Regions from separate parts of the Homo sapiens genome. Here all the other regions are linked to region 1. Evidence: promoter capture Hi-C in 16 types of primary human blood cells and fetal thymus (Javierre and others, 2016). All regions are on one chromosome and are shown on one strand. The core of a region is centred on a gene start or on the middle of the fragment in contact, and the rest is flanking DNA. Distances in the headings are between cores, read along the strand shown.

Evidence for each region. The method cuts DNA at HindIII sites, captures the fragments that hold promoters and counts their contacts. A CHiCAGO score of 5 or more calls a contact.
Region 2: a fragment that was not itself captured here is called in contact with the fragment with the promoter of LINC02478 in region 1 in 6 of 17 cell types (monocytes, total CD8 T cells, activated CD4 T cells and 3 more); the score reaches 8.5 in monocytes.
Region 3: a fragment that was not itself captured here is called in contact with the fragment with the promoter of LINC02478 in region 1 in 2 of 17 cell types (non-activated CD4 T cells and activated CD4 T cells); the score reaches 6.1 in non-activated CD4 T cells.

Annotation. Positions count from the first base shown.
Region 1 is chr2:160,270,406-160,273,501 of GRCh38, forward strand. It overlaps LINC02478 (long intergenic non-protein coding RNA 2478), which reads right to left and starts at 1,490. Exons shown (of 2, transcript NR_103775.1): 1 at 1,315-1,490. RBMS1 (RNA binding motif single stranded interacting protein 1) reads right to left here. Exons shown (of 14, transcript NM_016836.4): 14 at 1,746-3,096. RefSeq lists an enhancer at 1-307. The HindIII fragment of the contact is 15,786 bases long and covers 1-3,096 here.
Region 2 is chr2:160,930,560-160,933,655 of GRCh38, forward strand. No RefSeq gene overlaps it. Among named protein-coding and RNA genes, the nearest start is that of TANK-AS1, 230 kb to the right of the region's middle. The HindIII fragment of the contact is 924 bases long and covers 1,093-2,016 here.
Region 3 is chr2:160,913,363-160,916,458 of GRCh38, forward strand. No RefSeq gene overlaps it. Among named protein-coding and RNA genes, the nearest start is that of TANK-AS1, 250 kb to the right of the region's middle. The HindIII fragment of the contact is 6,579 bases long and covers 1-3,096 here.

The DNA of each region.
Region 1 (3,096 bases), core at 240-2,739:
CGAGGGGCAGAGACTGCCTGGCCTTCCTCAAATCCTGAGCTCCCGGCTCTCCTCCCTCCCCCACCTACTTGACATCTCAGGCTTTTTGTGGAAGGGGCAGGGCGATTGAGAGGTCGGTGACCTTTGTCCCAATGGCGCTGGCTCTTTTCCTTTTTGGCTACCCTAATGGAATGAGGATATAATCAGTCATATCTTAACATTCATTGAGCCCCGGCTCAGGCTGGGAGGCACTGCCTTTCTCCTAGTGAATTTTAAATCAGTATTTGTGGGATTTAAGCTCCAGCGGATAAACCTAGAGCCACTGGCCATGAAGGGTGTGGCAGTGGGGTGAAAAACGGGACTCCCGCCTCCACTCCCTGGCTTTCCTCATTCCAGCCACTATAGAGGGGAAAATACGTAGACCACAGAGCAACGGCCACACCCTCTTTCCTCTCCTCCAACCCCAGAATTCCACTTCAGTCTCAGAGCTTTCAGCTAGGTGGGGTTTATCCCCAAACATGCCACAACCCCTCTAGTTATATGGGAGCGGTAACTGTGAACCACCATCGCTGGCTTGATCCTCCCTTTTCCGTGGATTGGTGCTCCTGAGTATGTTTACCGGTTTCAGTACATAACACAGCCAGATAGAGGGCCGCGGACTTCAGCGGCGAGAAGCTACAACAAAAATAGGGTGAACAAAAACGAAGGTGCCCAGGAGCCTGAATTGCATTTCTTTCTTACCTTTGGTCATAGAAAGGAGCACTTAGGTGTTTGGCTGGAACGCAAAGTGAGACCAGAGCTTACATTCTTAGCAGCCTGGGTTTGTCTCGAGAGGCCATGCTTCTCTCCTCCCTGACATTTTGCTCTCAGAAGCACCAGTTAGCATCAGAGGAATGTTGTTTCCTTCTCTGAAACAGCCATCAAGTACCAGCGATTTCTTGGCTCCGGCAAGTTAAGTGCTCTGACCCCTCCCTTATCTAACTCACCCCGCACACCATCCACATGGCAGGGGACGCAGCCAGAAATGGAGCGGACTGCATCTTTTCCTTGCCCACTCTTTTTATCACCATGACAGAGCCACTGGACACCAGGAAATAAATACTGAACCACCACACTAAAACGTTTACTCCACTTTGGGCAGAAGGAGCCTATTTTGCATATTAAGTGCCTCCTATAAAGCAGTCAAGTGAGGGAAAGAGGAGTTCTCGCTCCTCCGTGAATGCTGCACGGGAGCCTCCAGTCGGGAACAGCTGAACAGGTAGCTCTGAAAGAGGACCTTGGTCATAAACGCATAGATAAGATTATCCCGAGGTTCTCGCCCACATGCTTCCTTACCACAGGTGGGAGGGCTGCTGTTAGGCTGTCTTCCTTGCTGAGCATTGACAAGCAATGAAATAGTTGAGGCGTAGCAGCAAGAAAGGAGGAAGAAAAAGGGCCTGGTTTTTTGGTCTTTAAGAACAGACCACTAGTGGTGTATTTTGGGCTGGATATTTGCTGAGCCGACCGTTGACGTGCTGAGCTGACGGTTGACGTGCTGAGCTGAGGGTTGACGTCTCTGGTCATTACACAGATTTAAATAACCAGCAAAAGTGGGGTGGAAAGGTTTTTCCAATTGTTTTCAAGGAAATGTATTTTGAGGATATATTGAATCTGACATAACTTTCAACTCACTTTCAAACCAATCTACTGAGCTGAAGAAAGAGATCAGAAATGAAATGAAATTCTGATATACACTTAATCGACTTAAAAAAAATTGACAGGAAAAATAAAATTTCAGATGTTTTTTATTCAAAGGTTCTCAAAAGAAATAAAACAGAAAAGCTAACAATCTGATCAAATGTACAGTTCAAAAATGTCTTTTGGCGTTTAACAACAAGTCCTAGGAAAGAAAACTACAGAGTTATCTTGAACCGGACAAATAAGTTACCACTGGCAAGTCTGTGGCACTAGTAAAACAAAAATAAAAAATTAACTCTCTTGATCATATAGATATCTCTATGAAAATCTTTTTTTTTCAATCTGTACAAAAGGTCTTTCTTCATAAATTAATTTTTTTATAATTTAATGGCTGTCTACTATGTGATGTTTAACTGATTTTTTTTTTTTTATGTACAGAGGTTATGTTTCCCAAATCTTACCCAGACGAGTATGGCACTTAGTTCAGACATTTCTAGCAGCAGATTTCCCCTCCCCTCTAACCGAGCTATCAAATTTCTGTCTTAACTAATGCAAAAATATCAAGTAGTGAGAGACCCAGGTTTATAACTGTACTAGGTACACAGAGGGTGCTGCGTTCAGTCTGGACTTTCACAAAGCAGTAATATTCCAGGGAGCATAGAACCAATAATACCACAACTTTAAAAAAATGAAACAAAAACAAAAACAAAAACACATTTCTCTTATGACTATGTAATTTTCACTAGAATCTACACTTCTCAGAGCAGCAAGGACTTTTGAAACTATGAAATGTCACTGACATCTATCATCAAATACAAGCATAAAATTTAAGAACTAAAAAATACTTGAAAGAAATAACTGCTTAGCCCTAGCTCCTGAGCTAGGAGGATTTGGTCTGTGGAAACAGGGAGGGCCAGCAACCTGTCCCAGCACAAAAGAAAATAGACTCTGAGGTAGATAACTGATCATACACAGCTGACCAGACAAGTACACAGTTTTGGAAGACAACTTAATTTACCATTGCTTTTAAAACATATGCAATTGCCTTAATAAAAGAGCTTTAATAACAGTGAATTATCTTATATGTACTAAAGTAGAAATAACTGTGTATTTATGAATCAGGAATTTCATAGTTTCAAAATTGGTTTTCTTTACACTTGAACACTTGTAGTGATGATGTAAAGTGTGGCACTGCTTGGATCCAAATCTTCCTTCATGCTTTTTTGTTTGTGTGTGTCCATACATCAATTAAAATTATAAAACCTAAATGCAAAGGTACAAAAAAGGCACATTCTCCTAACCGCAAACTGGTCCGGCAAAAATAAAGAGCACAGAAGATGTGATGCTGAGACAAGTTGGAGCTACTGGTTACTGGCTCTTCGGTCTTTGGTGAAGTTACCTTTAAAAGTGCCAAGTCATTTTTATTTTTCAAATTTACCT
Region 2 (3,096 bases), core at 305-2,804, 660 kb after region 1:
GATCCTGGGTGTGTCTGTGAGGGTGTTGCCAAAGGAGATTAACATTTGAGTTAGTGGGCTGGGAAAGGCAGAGCCACCCTTAATCTGGGTGGGCACCACCTAATCAGTTGCCAGTGTGGCCGGAATATAAAGCAGGCAGAAAAACGTGAAAAAACTAGACTGGCTTAGCCTCTCAGTCTACATCTTTCTCCCGTGCTGGATGCTTCTTGCCCTTGAACATCAGACTCCTAGTTCTTCAGCTTTGGGACTTGGACTGGCTTCCTTGCTCCTCAGCTTGCAGACGGCCTATTGTGGGACCTTACGATGGTGTCAGTTAATACTACTTAAGAAACTCAAATATATGAGAGAGCTATATACATATATATATCTTATTAGTTCTTTCCCTCTAGAAAACCCTAATACACCCTCTCTGGGGGTCAAGTGACACAGGCACTTTCTTTTACCTCTATGTCTTTGCTACAGTGATGTATCCCTCTGATTTATATTCATGCTTCAGGATCACCTCATTCACTAGCCTTGCATTGATACAGATGCCCCATTTCTTGTCAATGCTTTATTTATGCAATTACACATATTAATTTAGCAAATATTTATCAATATGTCCTAAATATGAAATACCATATGTATTAATAATAAGAAAGATACAAAGATAATTAAATATGTATCTTGAACTTAAGTATCTTACTGTCTTGTTTGAGACACAGAGTGGTAGCATAAATAATCCTAATACACAGATGGTATTAAATACTACTAAAATGATATAGATAAGGTACTATGAGAATTCAAACCCAGAAAAAAATTACTTCTAAAAAAAGATTAGCAAGAGCACAATTGGGAAATATTTCATGGAAGAAGTGGCTTCATACCATAGCCTTGTACACAAATAGACCAGAGAAAGACAGGTATTTCAGATGTTATGATAGTACCAGCAAAGGCATGGAGGTGGGAAGAAACTAGAAGACAGACAGGATGGAGTTCAGGGGGGCTCAAAAGAAGAGGATATAAAAGGATGTTTGGGGAAATAAATGTGTAGCAAGGTTCTTGGCATTGAATGATATGCTGTGTCTTAATTGTTGCTTTGTAGCCCTTAAAAGCTTGTGATGAGTAAGATGATCGGAGGTCGACTCTAGGAAGACCACTCTGGCATGCGTGCAGGCAAAAAGGAGAAGTTACTTTACAAAACTTTTACAACTGACTTCAAGGAAACAGCACTGAGACCCTGAATTAGGGTAGTGACAGTAAGAATGAGAAGGAATAAACGTATCTAACAGAGATTCCAAAAGTAGAATAAACAGAAATTAGCAACCGGTGAGAATAGAGGATAAGAAAGACTGAGAAGTAGGAAGTGACTCCACGATATTTTATTTATTTATCTTTGAGACAGGGTCTCACTCTGTTGCCCAGGCTGGAGTGCAGCAGCACAAGCACAACTTACTATAGGCTCAACCTCCCCTGGGATGGCTCAGTTGACCCTCCCACCTCAGCCTCCTGAGTAGCTGGGACCACAGGTGTACACTACCATGTCTGGCTAATTTTTTTAATTTTTGGTAGAGTCAGTATCTCCCTGTGTTGCCCAGGCTGGTCTGGAACTCCTGGGCTCAAGTGATCCTCCTGCCTCAGTCTCCCAAACTTCTGGGATTACAAGCATGAACCACTGTGTGTAGCCCCATGATTTTATAATGTACTGGTATACGGATACACCAGACATATAGATGCTCTTTTATTCAGTTAACAAATACTTATTGAGCATCTACTGTGCACCCAGAATTAGGCTACAAATTGGAGATACAGTAGCAAATGGAAAAAACAAAATAGAACCCTGCATTTAGGGAGCTGCCAATCTGCAGGAAGAGGTAGAGATACAGACGAAACTATTAGGGATTCTATGGTAGAGGCTGCCTCAGAATAGAGGGAGCCAAAGGAGTGAGTGGTTAAGCCACTGTTGGATGGAAGGATCCTCAGAGACCAGGTTGTGGAAGAGGCAGATGCATAAGATCATGTGCAACACTGCCAAGAAGCTTGCCTGTGAGAGCCTTTCTCTCCCACTCCTCAGAGGGGTCTTAGCCTCAAATGAAACAAATACGTGGATTCTTTCAGTGTTTATGTTAAGAAAACAATATAACTTCAATTGTACTTGTATCAGGTAATGGTATCAGTTTATATAACTTGTGGTGGGGAAGGAGGGGGATTGACAGCTTGAAGAAGTGAAAAGAGTTACAAATGAAGGCATTAAACCAGGCTTGCTCTCTGCTTCTCCCACTGGCCAGCTGGGTGACATTTTATTTAACTTCTCTTGGCCTCAGTTTTCTTATTCATAAAATGTTGATTTTTTAAAAAAACCTACTTAAACCATATTATGTTGTAAAAATAAAAAAATAAATATAGAAGAAATGTACAAGCCATAAAATATTACATAGTTACAAAATATTACTAACCATATCTGTTTCAGTCAAGATTTCTATAGAAAGGAAATGGCAGACTCACATTAGATTGGAGGAGAGTTTATTTACAGAGGGACTGTTTACAAAGTGCAGGCAGGGTTAGGGGAATAGTGCAATGCTCCAGGGAGAGTAACATCAGAGGAGATGTTATCACATCTGGGCCCAAAGGGACAAGAGGCCTGAGTCACTGTGGGAATTGGGAAAGAGAAAATCCTATGAGATGTAGAAGGCATCTGCAAGCAACACAGCAAAGAGGAAGCCCAGGAAACAAATACCTTGTTTACCCTCCCCCTTTCCTGCGATTAGCCACTGGGAAGTCCACCGGCCACAGAGCCAATCAGAAGCCAGAGAGGGGGAGATCCTAGTGGATGCCTCCCTATAGGTCAGCCTCTGGGATCAGTGAGTTGGGAAGAGAAGGTATCTATCTGACCAAATAGCAGTGGTTATCTATTCATCAACTTCAGTGAATGTAAAATCACCCCCAGAGAGCTTGTGAGAAATGAACATTCTGGGCCCTACCCCAGAAAATTGTGATTTTTGTAGACCTGGAGAGATGGAAAGCAGCAATGCTCTGGGCATCACAGGAGTCTCCTACACATGGTCACTGGGCTGCATTTTGAGAAAACAGAAGTAGATATTTAATTTCTAGATAGGT
Region 3 (3,096 bases), core at 362-2,861, 640 kb after region 1:
ACTCCATCCCTTCTCGCTACTCCCATGAGAAGAGGAGGAAGGGTCTCATCAGCCTCTGATTGGTGGAACTGGGAGACAGGGTGATACTCCTCACTAGAGATCCATCCTCTTTGATGCTGTCTGGACCTGGCTGCCCACAAACAACCCACATTTTCCTTTTTACTTCCTGCCACCTTGTCTGAACCAGAGCAGCTGCTCTGCCCACCACCAGACAATGTCAATTCAAGGTGGGTGGAGAGGATGTAAAGCCTATTGGTCTTAGATCCAAGATATGTTCTCCAACCCATTACTAGCAAGAAAGGCCATTTTTTATTCCTGTCTGACCTCTATTATCTACTTCTCAAAGTAGTTCAGAACTCAGAGAAGAGTTAAGTTTTCTGGGGTCTTGAAAACACCAACTTCCCTTTAGCAATTATCTTACTGTAGTTTAATATTTGATTGGCCATACGCCTTTGTGCTAGAGCATAAGCAATTTGAGAGTAAAATCTAGTTCTTTTTATCTTTGTAAGCCCTGACCTAACACAGAGTAGCATTAATGTTGTTTCCACCCATCAATCATTACACTAATATCTAATAAAATAGTAATAAAATGATAACCTGGTTTTAAAAGACTTCACTCAAGCAATTACATAAGCTGCATTTGTAGGTATAAAATTATTACCTGGGGTAAAGTGCCATATTATTGACTGATTTGATCTAATGAATATTACAAGTAGACTGAAGTGTGAGTACTTAGTTCGGGCTGCTATCACCAAACACCAAAGACTGGGTGGCTTGTATGCAACATATTTATTTCTCACAGTTCTAGAGGCCGAAAGTCTGAGATCAGGGGATACCAGTCTGAGATCAAGGTCTAGTGAGGGCCCTCTTTCTTGTTGCAGACTGTCAACTTTTCATTGTATCCTCACATGGCAGAAAGATGACTCTCTGTGGCCTACTTTATAAGGGCACTAATCCCATTCATGAGGGCTCTATCCTCATGACCTAATTACCACCCAAAGTCCCCACCTCCTAATACTATTACCCTGGGGGGTTAGGACTTCAACATATGTATTTGCAGGAGGACCCAAACATTCAGTCCACAACTATCTCCCTCCTGCTGTTCTCCCTAATCTACATTAGAATACACAATTCTAATGTATTATGTGTGTATGAATGAGGGCATTGGATATTAGGGATGCCTTACTTTTCTTTTTTAAATTGTTTAAAATTTTACTTTAACTTCTGGGATACATGTACAGAATGTGCAGGTTTGTTACATAGGTATACATGTGCCATGGTGGTTTGCTGCACCTATCAATCCATCATCTAGGTTTTAAGCTCCGCATGCATTAGGTGTTTGTACTAATGCTCTTTCTCCCCTTAGCCCCCACCCACTGACAGGCCTCAGTGTGTGTTGTTCCCCTCCCTGTGTCCATGTGTTCTCCTTGTTCAACTCCCACTTATGAGTGAGAACTTGTGGTGTTTGGTTTTCTGTTCCCGTATTAGTTTGCTGAGAATGATGGCTTCCAGCTTCATCCATGTCCCTGCAAAGGACATGGTCTCATTCTTTTTTATGGCTGCATAGTATTCCATGGTGTTTATGTGCCACATTTTCTTTATCCAGTCTATCACTAATGGGCATTTGGGTTCATTCCAAGTCTTTGCTTTCATAAATAGTGCTGCAATAAACATATGTGTGCATGTATCTTTATAGTAGAATGATTTATAATCCTTTGGGTATATACCCAGCAATGGGATTGCTGGGTCAAATGGTATTTCTGGTTCTAGATCCTTGAGGAATCGCCACACTGTCTTCCCCAATGGTTGAATTAATTGACACTCCCACCAAGAATATAAAAGCGTTCCTATATCTCCACAGCCTTGTCAGCATCTGTTGTTTCCTGACTTTTTAATAATTGCTATTCTGACTGTCACGAGATGGTATCTCATTGTGGTTTTGATTTGCATTTCTCTAATGATCAGTGATGATGAGCTTTTTTTCATATGTTTGTTGGCCGCATATATGTCTTCTTTTGAGAAATGTCTGCTCATATACTTTGCCCACTTTTTGATGGGGTTTTTTTTTCTTGTAAATTTGTTTAAGTTCCTTGTAGATTCTGGATATTAGGCTTTTGTCAGATGTGTAGATTGCAAAAATTTTCTTCCATTCTGTAGGTTGCCTGTTCACTCTGATGCTAGTTTCTTTTGCTATGCTGAAGCTCTTTAGTTTAATTGGATCCCATTTGTCAATTTTGGCATTTGTGGAAATTGCTTTTGGTGTTTTAGTCATAAAGTCTTTGCCCGTGCCTATGTTGTAAATGGTATTGCCTAGGTTTTCTTCTAGGGTTTTTATGGTTTGGGGTTTTACATTTACATCTTTAATCCATCTTGAGTTAATTTTTGCATAAGGCGTAAGGAAGGGGTCCAGTTTCAATTTTCTTCATATGGCTAGCCAGTTTTTCCCAGCACCATTTATTAAATAGGGAGTCCTTTCCCCATTGCTTGTTTTTGTCAGGTTTGTTGAAGGTTTGCACAAAATCAATGTGCAAAAATCATAAGTGTTCCTAGATAGCAACAATAGACAAGTAAAGAGCCAAATCATTAATGAACTCCCATTCACAGTTGCTACAAGGAGAATAAGATACTTAGGATTACAACTTACAAAGGATGTGAAGGACGTCTTCAAGGAGAACTACAAACCACTGCTCAAGGAAATAAGAGAGGAAACAAATGGGAAAACATTCCATGCTCATGGATAAGAAGAATCAATATCGTGAAAATGGCCATACTGCCCAAAGTAATTTATGGATTCAATGCTATTCCCATCAAGCTACCATTGACTTTCTTCACAGAATTAGAAAAAAAAAAAAACTACTTTAAATTTCATATGGAACCAAAAAAGAGCCCGTATAGCCAAGACAATCCTAAGCAAAAAGAAGAAAGCTGGAGGCATCCCGCTACCTGACTTCAAACTATACTACAAGGCTACAGTAGCCTTACTTTTCAACTAGTCACTCTGAAGATTGAGTAAGGTATCAAGTATATAAATATCTCTTATATCAGGAATCTCCAATCTTTTCCTGAAGAATAATACTTGGTTATTTCCATAAAATG